Linked DNA regions of Homo sapiens: region 2 is linked to region 1. Evidence: promoter capture Hi-C in 16 types of primary human blood cells and fetal thymus (Javierre and others, 2016). All regions are on one chromosome and are shown on one strand. Each heading gives the region's core, a stretch centred on a gene start or on the middle of the fragment in contact. The rest is flanking DNA. Distances are from core to core; before and after follow the strand shown. Region 1 holds the start of PSMD14 (proteasome 26S subunit, non-ATPase 14). Region 2 holds the start of LINC02478 (long intergenic non-protein coding RNA 2478).

Evidence for each region. Contacts are between HindIII fragments. The CHiCAGO score rates a contact against its expected background, and 5 or more counts as called.
Region 2: a contact is called between the fragment with the promoter of LINC02478 here and the fragment with the promoter of PSMD14 in region 1, in 2 of 17 cell types (neutrophils and total B cells). The highest score is 12.3, in neutrophils.

What each region holds. Positions count from the first base shown.
Region 1 is chr2:161,306,196-161,310,794 of GRCh38, reverse strand. It overlaps PSMD14 (proteasome 26S subunit, non-ATPase 14), which reads right to left and starts at 2,370. Exons shown (of 12, transcript NM_005805.6): 1 at 2,191-2,370. RefSeq lists an enhancer at 2,043-2,502. The HindIII fragment of the contact is 7,205 bases long and covers 1-4,599 here.
Region 2 is chr2:160,269,677-160,274,100 of GRCh38, reverse strand. LINC02478 (long intergenic non-protein coding RNA 2478) reads left to right here and starts at 2,206. Exons shown (of 2, transcript NR_103775.1): 1 at 2,206-2,381. It overlaps RBMS1 (RNA binding motif single stranded interacting protein 1), which reads left to right. Exons shown (of 14, transcript NM_016836.4): 14 at 1-1,950. RefSeq lists an enhancer at 3,389-3,998. The HindIII fragment of the contact is 15,786 bases long and covers 1-4,424 here.

The sequences.
Region 1 (4,599 bases), core at 1,121-3,620:
ATTTGAATCCGGCGTCACCACCTACTCACTATATGACACTAATTTTTACCCTCTTCTAGACTCTAGACCTCATTTATAAAGTGGGGATAACATCTACTTTGCAAGTCTGTTGTAAAAATACGTCCAAAGCAATTTATAGTGCCTGGAACATCCAAGGTACTCAATAAATGTTGTCGTTGCTATTCTTGTTATAATTGTTATTATTATCATTTTAGAACTAGAAGAGATTATTTAATCAAGTTCTCCCATTTCACAAATAAGGTCACCAAAGTATCACACACAAAGCAGAATACGAAATGTCAAAATGACTGCAACAAACAGGGAATATGACAAGTTCCTGAGCAAGAAATCACATGGATATTCAGGCAAGGCTTTCACAGGTGGACACTGAATTATTAAATGAACGTTACTACAAAATTGAAAATTAAAAAAGCACAGTTGCTTCTTGTTACTGAAATAAGAGGACTAGATTAATCTCTTCCACTTCTAAGATAATAACAATAACAACAGCAATAATATTTATTGACTTTCATACATATGGTTCACAAACTATATATTAACAAGCACATGGTTTACATGGCCAGTATGAAAATAAGATGAACCCATGTCAAACAGATTAAAATTCAGCTTTTTCTCTTTTTTTTGAGACAAAGTCTCACTCTGTTGCCCAAGCTGGAGTGCAGTTGCGCGATCTTGGCTCACTGCAACCTCCACCTCCCAGGTTCCACCTCCAGCCTCCTGAGGTAGCTGGGAATACAGGCACGTGCCACCATGCCCGGCTGATTTTTTTATACTTTTAGTAGAGACGGGTTTTCACTATGTTAGCCAGGCTAGTCTTGGCCAGGCTGGATCATCTCATGATCTGCCCACCTCAGCCTCCCAAAGTGCTGGGATTACAGGTGTGAGCCACCGCACCCGGCCTAAATTAAAATGGCAATGTATTATTTACCAAGCACTTTAGGCTGAAAAAAAAACAAAAAACCAAAAACTCCCAAAGTCAACAGGTGAAGCATCAATAAAAGATCATCACTTGAAAACTTTCTTCCCTTGGCAAGATTTAGGGACAAATTCAAGACAACATTTAGCCTTTTTCACTAAATAGCACTTCACTAAACACACCTTAACTGTAGTTAATTCAGAACCACTATATATCTTAACCTCTAAACTTCAAATGAGTCAGCTGGTAGGTAGCCTTACGTGACAGGAAGGCCACCATTATATTAATCATCTCCACTAAAACTGTGTTCATGTTTTTGTTATTTCTACAGTATCAGTGCATGTCTTGCTGCTTTTCTCAAACACATTAAGTCAGAAGCACTAAAAAAACACTTGTGACCAGTGGAACAAAATCACTTTCACACTATAACTCTATTTTATGCTCATTTTTAAACCCTTTCCCCTGCCTTTCCATAATATTTTATCAACTTATATTACCATTTATTTTCTCGAGAATTTTTCCTTCAGTCACTAGGTTTATAGACTCAAAAGTTTACATTCTTTTTCTTTTGACAGACACAGAGCTACATCCCCAGGAAAATTAAGTTGCAAGATGTAACATACGGTAGCAGATTTCTACTTTACTTAAAACGAGAAATGTAATCAATTTACCAACAATTACTCAATTAGTATGATATTGAAAGTAAGTTAACAGCCATAGTAGCACACTTTGTTTTTAAGATATTCAAGGTCCAAAAGCAGTGTATCTGCAGGACTTTTGTTTACTTTTTGGAGGGAGCTGAAAACCTAACACTAACAGAAAAAGGGTTAAGGCTTACAGGAAGGACAAGAGATAAAACAAACGTATTCAATGGGAAAGTTAATTCTACTCTCTCTCCCTTGTTTTCCCGGTCTGCTTTGAAAAACTTCAAAGCAGACCGGTTAACAACTATGGATAGAGCACAGACAAACAGGCCATAAACAAGGATTCTCTCTATATAGATGGAAGAGGTTCCCATGATGTGAATTCGGCCAAACAGAAAAGAATGGAGAAAGGAGGCGACATCCAGACCTGACCCTGCCAGAGAGCCCTGAGAGCAGGCGAAGAGAATGAAGGAGGCCGGGCTCCTCCCTCGCGGCCCAGGCCTCCTGTGGCAACTCAGCTGGGCAACGTGACTCAGGAAAGCACGGGGCTGGCGGCGGCCTAGCACGGCTGCCTCCCCAGACCTCCCAGGCCTGCCTTCTGGGTCTTACCTGAAGACGGGCGGGAGCCGGATGCCGCGATATGGACCCTTGTCTTGCCTCTGTGGTGACGCGAAGACAGAGGCAACAGCAGCAGCGGCGCACACCCGACGCGGCTCTGTCTGCAAACCGGCGATGAATCAGCCCGATTCCATTCAAAAGAGTTGCCCGGGCCTCCGCCGCGAAGCACTTCCGGGTTCACTAGTTTGCTTCGGCTTCCGTTCCCCGACGGCCAATTGGAGACGACGGAGAGTCAAGCGGATGTCCAGGAGGAGCTCTTGGGACAGACGGCGCGGGCGGCCCGGCGTCTCCTGTCTCTGGCAGGACTGTGAGGCGGCACTTAGCGCCCTGGTCGCTCGCGCCCCGCCGACGCCTCCTTTTTCTCTCCCTACCTCTGCGCTCTGCGGCCGCCGCTGAGATCTGGGACGGCGGCACATCCAGCCCGGGAGACGACTGGCTAGGAAATAGAACTGTTAGTATTTTGAAGCCCAGATCCCCTTTCGTTTTGGTGTTCACTACTATTATTGCCCTCCTCAAAAACTAAAAGGTTCATTTGAGCTAGATTTAACTTGGTTATCTGAGAAGAAAATTTTTTTAAAAGAGGGGGGATGGTGTGATTAGAGGGGACCGGTAAGACGCCCTTTTCTGTAAGTCCGCTTTATCCACCTCTTGTCATTATTGCTTTGCAAGGATTGGATTTCAGGGAAAACTAAGGTTTCCCAAATGTTCAAACCACCTATTTTAAGCCGAGTTTAGTTTACAGGGTTTAAAGAGTCATTTATTCACATTTCTCCATGTAATTATCGGCAATCACATTTTACTCATGATCTACTTTGTGCTAGGCTTTCAAAAAGCAAAGTTGCAGAAGATATACTTGACAAGTTGATATTACACTCTAGGTCTAGGTACAGTCTCTGTTTAAGGCAGCTTGTTTGCCACGTTCCTGTCACTTTCTCAAATATGTTCCAAATAACAAGCATCTTTAAAGCATTCCTAAATCGAGAATGGTGATGAATCTACTGGACAGAGGGTGAGGAAAGATTACAGCGCCTGGATCCAAACTGTGATTTGAGTAGCACAATTGCTTTAAGATATTAATACCTTTAAAAACACAAAGATTATTTTACTCATAGGTAATATTTGGATCCACATCTTTATGCTTCCCCCCCAAACCTATGCCTCTCTATTCATTTTTTATGGGAGGAGGGGGTGAGTAGCCCCGTCCTCCAAATAATTTTCCTAATCAGAAACTTAAGAGTATGAACACTTGCCTCTTTTTCATCTCTCCCCACTGTAGAAACCATGAAATGTGTAATCTCCATAACAGCTTTTCCAATCCACCACTTCCCCTTCTAAATACTCCCCACTTTGGCCTTAACTCAGACCTTCCTCACTTCTTTTTTATTTTATTTTATTTTATATGTATTTATTTATTAATGCATTTTTGAGTTAGGGTCTTGCTTTGTCACGCAGGCTGGAGTGCAGTGGCGCCATCTGGGCTCACTGCAACATCCCGTCCCCGGGCTCAGGCAACCCTCCCACTTCAGCCTCCTAGGTAGCTAGGGCTACAGGCGCTTGCCACCATGCCCAGTTAATTTTTATTTATGTTTTTATTTATTTTATTTTTTTAGTAGAGACAGGATTTCACCATGTTCCCCAGGCTACTTTTTTAGAATGCTCTTTGATCTTTCCGCCTTCGGTCTGATTCCTTTTAATCCATTCTCCACCTCACTGGTAAAAATTTTTGTGCTATATGTAGTCATGCTCCTTCTTTATTTAAAATTCCACTAGTGGCTCCCCATAACATTCATTATAAAGGTCAAAAAAAAAAAAAACCCTTAAACTTTGTTTGGAGCACCTTTTGCTCCAGCCATACTAAAGTATTTAGCTGGGGAATAAGATGTCCATAGGGCTTTGAAAAACGCTAACATATTCCTGAGACTGTAGAAGGTGCTTAGGGTGTGCATATGTCTAGGGTTATGTGAACACTCAAGATAGGCCTGAGAAGGCCCTGAGCTCTAACCTCTGGGTGACCTTGAGGCACTACAGAAGCAAGAAGTGAAGGCTAAGGCAGAATTATTTGGTTGGTTGGTGCAAAAAATTGCGGTTTTGTCATTTCAACGAAATTACTTTGGTACCAACCTAATGTAAAGTGCTTGGCTGATTGTTGAAGGCTTGTCCCAACGTAAGTACTAAACCCCTCAGGAAAGACTGGGAGATTTTTTGGTTGAAGGTGTTTAAGAAAACCTGTCTCTCTAATCATTAGTTGACCACTAAGCTAACTGAGCAGAAACCTGAGTGGTCACACACAATAAACAATGCAGACTTTAAAGAATTCATTCATAAGCTAGGTGCGGTGGCACACGTGTAGTCCCAGCTACTCGGTAAACTAAGGCCAGAGGATCCCTTGAGTCACCAACT
Region 2 (4,424 bases), core at 957-3,456, 1.0 Mb after region 1:
CTTTGACCAAATGAGCTGGTCTATTATGCCTTGTAAAACAGCAGCATAGGGCTTTTAAAAGGTAGTCAATAAAAGTTGCTGAAATTTTGGCTTTTTTAAATATGTAGTAGGTGTTTTTAATGATTTTTCACATAATGTGTAAGGTAGTGAAATGCAAGAAGGGAAAAATGTTTTGTGTGAAACACATTTTCTGACTGGGGAACTTTTATTAGGGTAAATTGTTTGTAAGGCTGTACGCCAACAGTTTCCTCTGATAGTTTGACTGATTTAGGATATCTGCTGTATGATGCAATGTAAAGTCTTTTTTGCCTTTTTTCAGGAAAAAAAAAAAGCTAACTTGATGTACTAGATTTAGTGTAGGTAGTGTTGGGGTTGGGGATGGGGGTGGGGGAGGGGAGTCACTGAATGTTTTGTCCTTCCTTTATACTAATGATAGTGCTTTAGAATGAGAATTATGCCTGAAATCTGGCAAACCGAAAAATGTTGCTATTGCAACAAAGTGGCAAAAGCTAAAAGTAAGGATTTATCTTCAAACATAAGCTGAGATAACGAATAGAAGCAAAACGATTGGCTACTAGCTCTCTCTCTCTCTCTCTATTAGGTAAATTTGAAAAATAAAAATGACTTGGCACTTTTAAAGGTAACTTCACCAAAGACCGAAGAGCCAGTAACCAGTAGCTCCAACTTGTCTCAGCATCACATCTTCTGTGCTCTTTATTTTTGCCGGACCAGTTTGCGGTTAGGAGAATGTGCCTTTTTTGTACCTTTGCATTTAGGTTTTATAATTTTAATTGATGTATGGACACACACAAACAAAAAAGCATGAAGGAAGATTTGGATCCAAGCAGTGCCACACTTTACATCATCACTACAAGTGTTCAAGTGTAAAGAAAACCAATTTTGAAACTATGAAATTCCTGATTCATAAATACACAGTTATTTCTACTTTAGTACATATAAGATAATTCACTGTTATTAAAGCTCTTTTATTAAGGCAATTGCATATGTTTTAAAAGCAATGGTAAATTAAGTTGTCTTCCAAAACTGTGTACTTGTCTGGTCAGCTGTGTATGATCAGTTATCTACCTCAGAGTCTATTTTCTTTTGTGCTGGGACAGGTTGCTGGCCCTCCCTGTTTCCACAGACCAAATCCTCCTAGCTCAGGAGCTAGGGCTAAGCAGTTATTTCTTTCAAGTATTTTTTAGTTCTTAAATTTTATGCTTGTATTTGATGATAGATGTCAGTGACATTTCATAGTTTCAAAAGTCCTTGCTGCTCTGAGAAGTGTAGATTCTAGTGAAAATTACATAGTCATAAGAGAAATGTGTTTTTGTTTTTGTTTTTGTTTCATTTTTTTAAAGTTGTGGTATTATTGGTTCTATGCTCCCTGGAATATTACTGCTTTGTGAAAGTCCAGACTGAACGCAGCACCCTCTGTGTACCTAGTACAGTTATAAACCTGGGTCTCTCACTACTTGATATTTTTGCATTAGTTAAGACAGAAATTTGATAGCTCGGTTAGAGGGGAGGGGAAATCTGCTGCTAGAAATGTCTGAACTAAGTGCCATACTCGTCTGGGTAAGATTTGGGAAACATAACCTCTGTACATAAAAAAAAAAAAATCAGTTAAACATCACATAGTAGACAGCCATTAAATTATAAAAAAATTAATTTATGAAGAAAGACCTTTTGTACAGATTGAAAAAAAAAGATTTTCATAGAGATATCTATATGATCAAGAGAGTTAATTTTTTATTTTTGTTTTACTAGTGCCACAGACTTGCCAGTGGTAACTTATTTGTCCGGTTCAAGATAACTCTGTAGTTTTCTTTCCTAGGACTTGTTGTTAAACGCCAAAAGACATTTTTGAACTGTACATTTGATCAGATTGTTAGCTTTTCTGTTTTATTTCTTTTGAGAACCTTTGAATAAAAAACATCTGAAATTTTATTTTTCCTGTCAATTTTTTTTAAGTCGATTAAGTGTATATCAGAATTTCATTTCATTTCTGATCTCTTTCTTCAGCTCAGTAGATTGGTTTGAAAGTGAGTTGAAAGTTATGTCAGATTCAATATATCCTCAAAATACATTTCCTTGAAAACAATTGGAAAAACCTTTCCACCCCACTTTTGCTGGTTATTTAAATCTGTGTAATGACCAGAGACGTCAACCCTCAGCTCAGCACGTCAACCGTCAGCTCAGCACGTCAACGGTCGGCTCAGCAAATATCCAGCCCAAAATACACCACTAGTGGTCTGTTCTTAAAGACCAAAAAACCAGGCCCTTTTTCTTCCTCCTTTCTTGCTGCTACGCCTCAACTATTTCATTGCTTGTCAATGCTCAGCAAGGAAGACAGCCTAACAGCAGCCCTCCCACCTGTGGTAAGGAAGCATGTGGGCGAGAACCTCGGGATAATCTTATCTATGCGTTTATGACCAAGGTCCTCTTTCAGAGCTACCTGTTCAGCTGTTCCCGACTGGAGGCTCCCGTGCAGCATTCACGGAGGAGCGAGAACTCCTCTTTCCCTCACTTGACTGCTTTATAGGAGGCACTTAATATGCAAAATAGGCTCCTTCTGCCCAAAGTGGAGTAAACGTTTTAGTGTGGTGGTTCAGTATTTATTTCCTGGTGTCCAGTGGCTCTGTCATGGTGATAAAAAGAGTGGGCAAGGAAAAGATGCAGTCCGCTCCATTTCTGGCTGCGTCCCCTGCCATGTGGATGGTGTGCGGGGTGAGTTAGATAAGGGAGGGGTCAGAGCACTTAACTTGCCGGAGCCAAGAAATCGCTGGTACTTGATGGCTGTTTCAGAGAAGGAAACAACATTCCTCTGATGCTAACTGGTGCTTCTGAGAGCAAAATGTCAGGGAGGAGAGAAGCATGGCCTCTCGAGACAAACCCAGGCTGCTAAGAATGTAAGCTCTGGTCTCACTTTGCGTTCCAGCCAAACACCTAAGTGCTCCTTTCTATGACCAAAGGTAAGAAAGAAATGCAATTCAGGCTCCTGGGCACCTTCGTTTTTGTTCACCCTATTTTTGTTGTAGCTTCTCGCCGCTGAAGTCCGCGGCCCTCTATCTGGCTGTGTTATGTACTGAAACCGGTAAACATACTCAGGAGCACCAATCCACGGAAAAGGGAGGATCAAGCCAGCGATGGTGGTTCACAGTTACCGCTCCCATATAACTAGAGGGGTTGTGGCATGTTTGGGGATAAACCCCACCTAGCTGAAAGCTCTGAGACTGAAGTGGAATTCTGGGGTTGGAGGAGAGGAAAGAGGGTGTGGCCGTTGCTCTGTGGTCTACGTATTTTCCCCTCTATAGTGGCTGGAATGAGGAAAGCCAGGGAGTGGAGGCGGGAGTCCCGTTTTTCACCCCACTGCCACACCCTTCATGGCCAGTGGCTCTAGGTTTATCCGCTGGAGCTTAAATCCCACAAATACTGATTTAAAATTCACTAGGAGAAAGGCAGTGCCTCCCAGCCTGAGCCGGGGCTCAATGAATGTTAAGATATGACTGATTATATCCTCATTCCATTAGGGTAGCCAAAAAGGAAAAGAGCCAGCGCCATTGGGACAAAGGTCACCGACCTCTCAATCGCCCTGCCCCTTCCACAAAAAGCCTGAGATGTCAAGTAGGTGGGGGAGGGAGGAGAGCCGGGAGCTCAGGATTTGAGGAAGGCCAGGCAGTCTCTGCCCCTCGAATAGCAACGCGATGAGCTCAGCCCCCTCAGTCCAGGCCGAGAGCCAGATGGGGGTCACGTGGCCGCGGGGCCCCCCGGGCGCAGGGTCCTCGGCACAGCTGACGGGTGCGCGCCGAGCTCCGCCGGGCGAAGGAATTCCAGCCCCGCAAAATGGCTCCAGAGTGTCTCCCGTGACTCGCTCGGTGGCTGCGGAAGGCAAGAGGGTGTGTGCGCTTGAGCCGCTAGAGGGAGGGTGTTTTGTTCCTCAGCCGTCAGACGCGAGCTCTGCAGGCCGAAAACCCAGACCCGCTGCAGCCGACATCGGGAAGCCCCTGGGCGGAGGTTTAGCCTGTCGGGGCACACAGGCCTGGGTCACAGGGGTCTTGAATTTGGGGTTCCTCGTAAGACTGGAGCGCAGGCCGTCGCCTGTGCTGGCAGCGCCCTCATTGTGAGCGTTGTTGGTCAGACTGGGGAGTGACTGAAATGTGACTTTGAAGGTTCAGGGCAGCTGGGGGCGGCTAGGGAGGAAACCGCGCGCCTTGCCAGACCACGTGACTCGGCGCGAGAAAGCGATGGCAGGTCTCTGGGCTGCTCAGAATTGAAAACGTGGCTTTGAATTAAAGAATTCGGTTGTTTTATGCGACTCTGAGAGACTTAAGATTTGATGTAGGCTATTCCAGTGCTCACACAGGACCCAGACCATAAACCAGACTGCAGGGATTTCCTATCCTCTAGTATCCTTGAAGCCA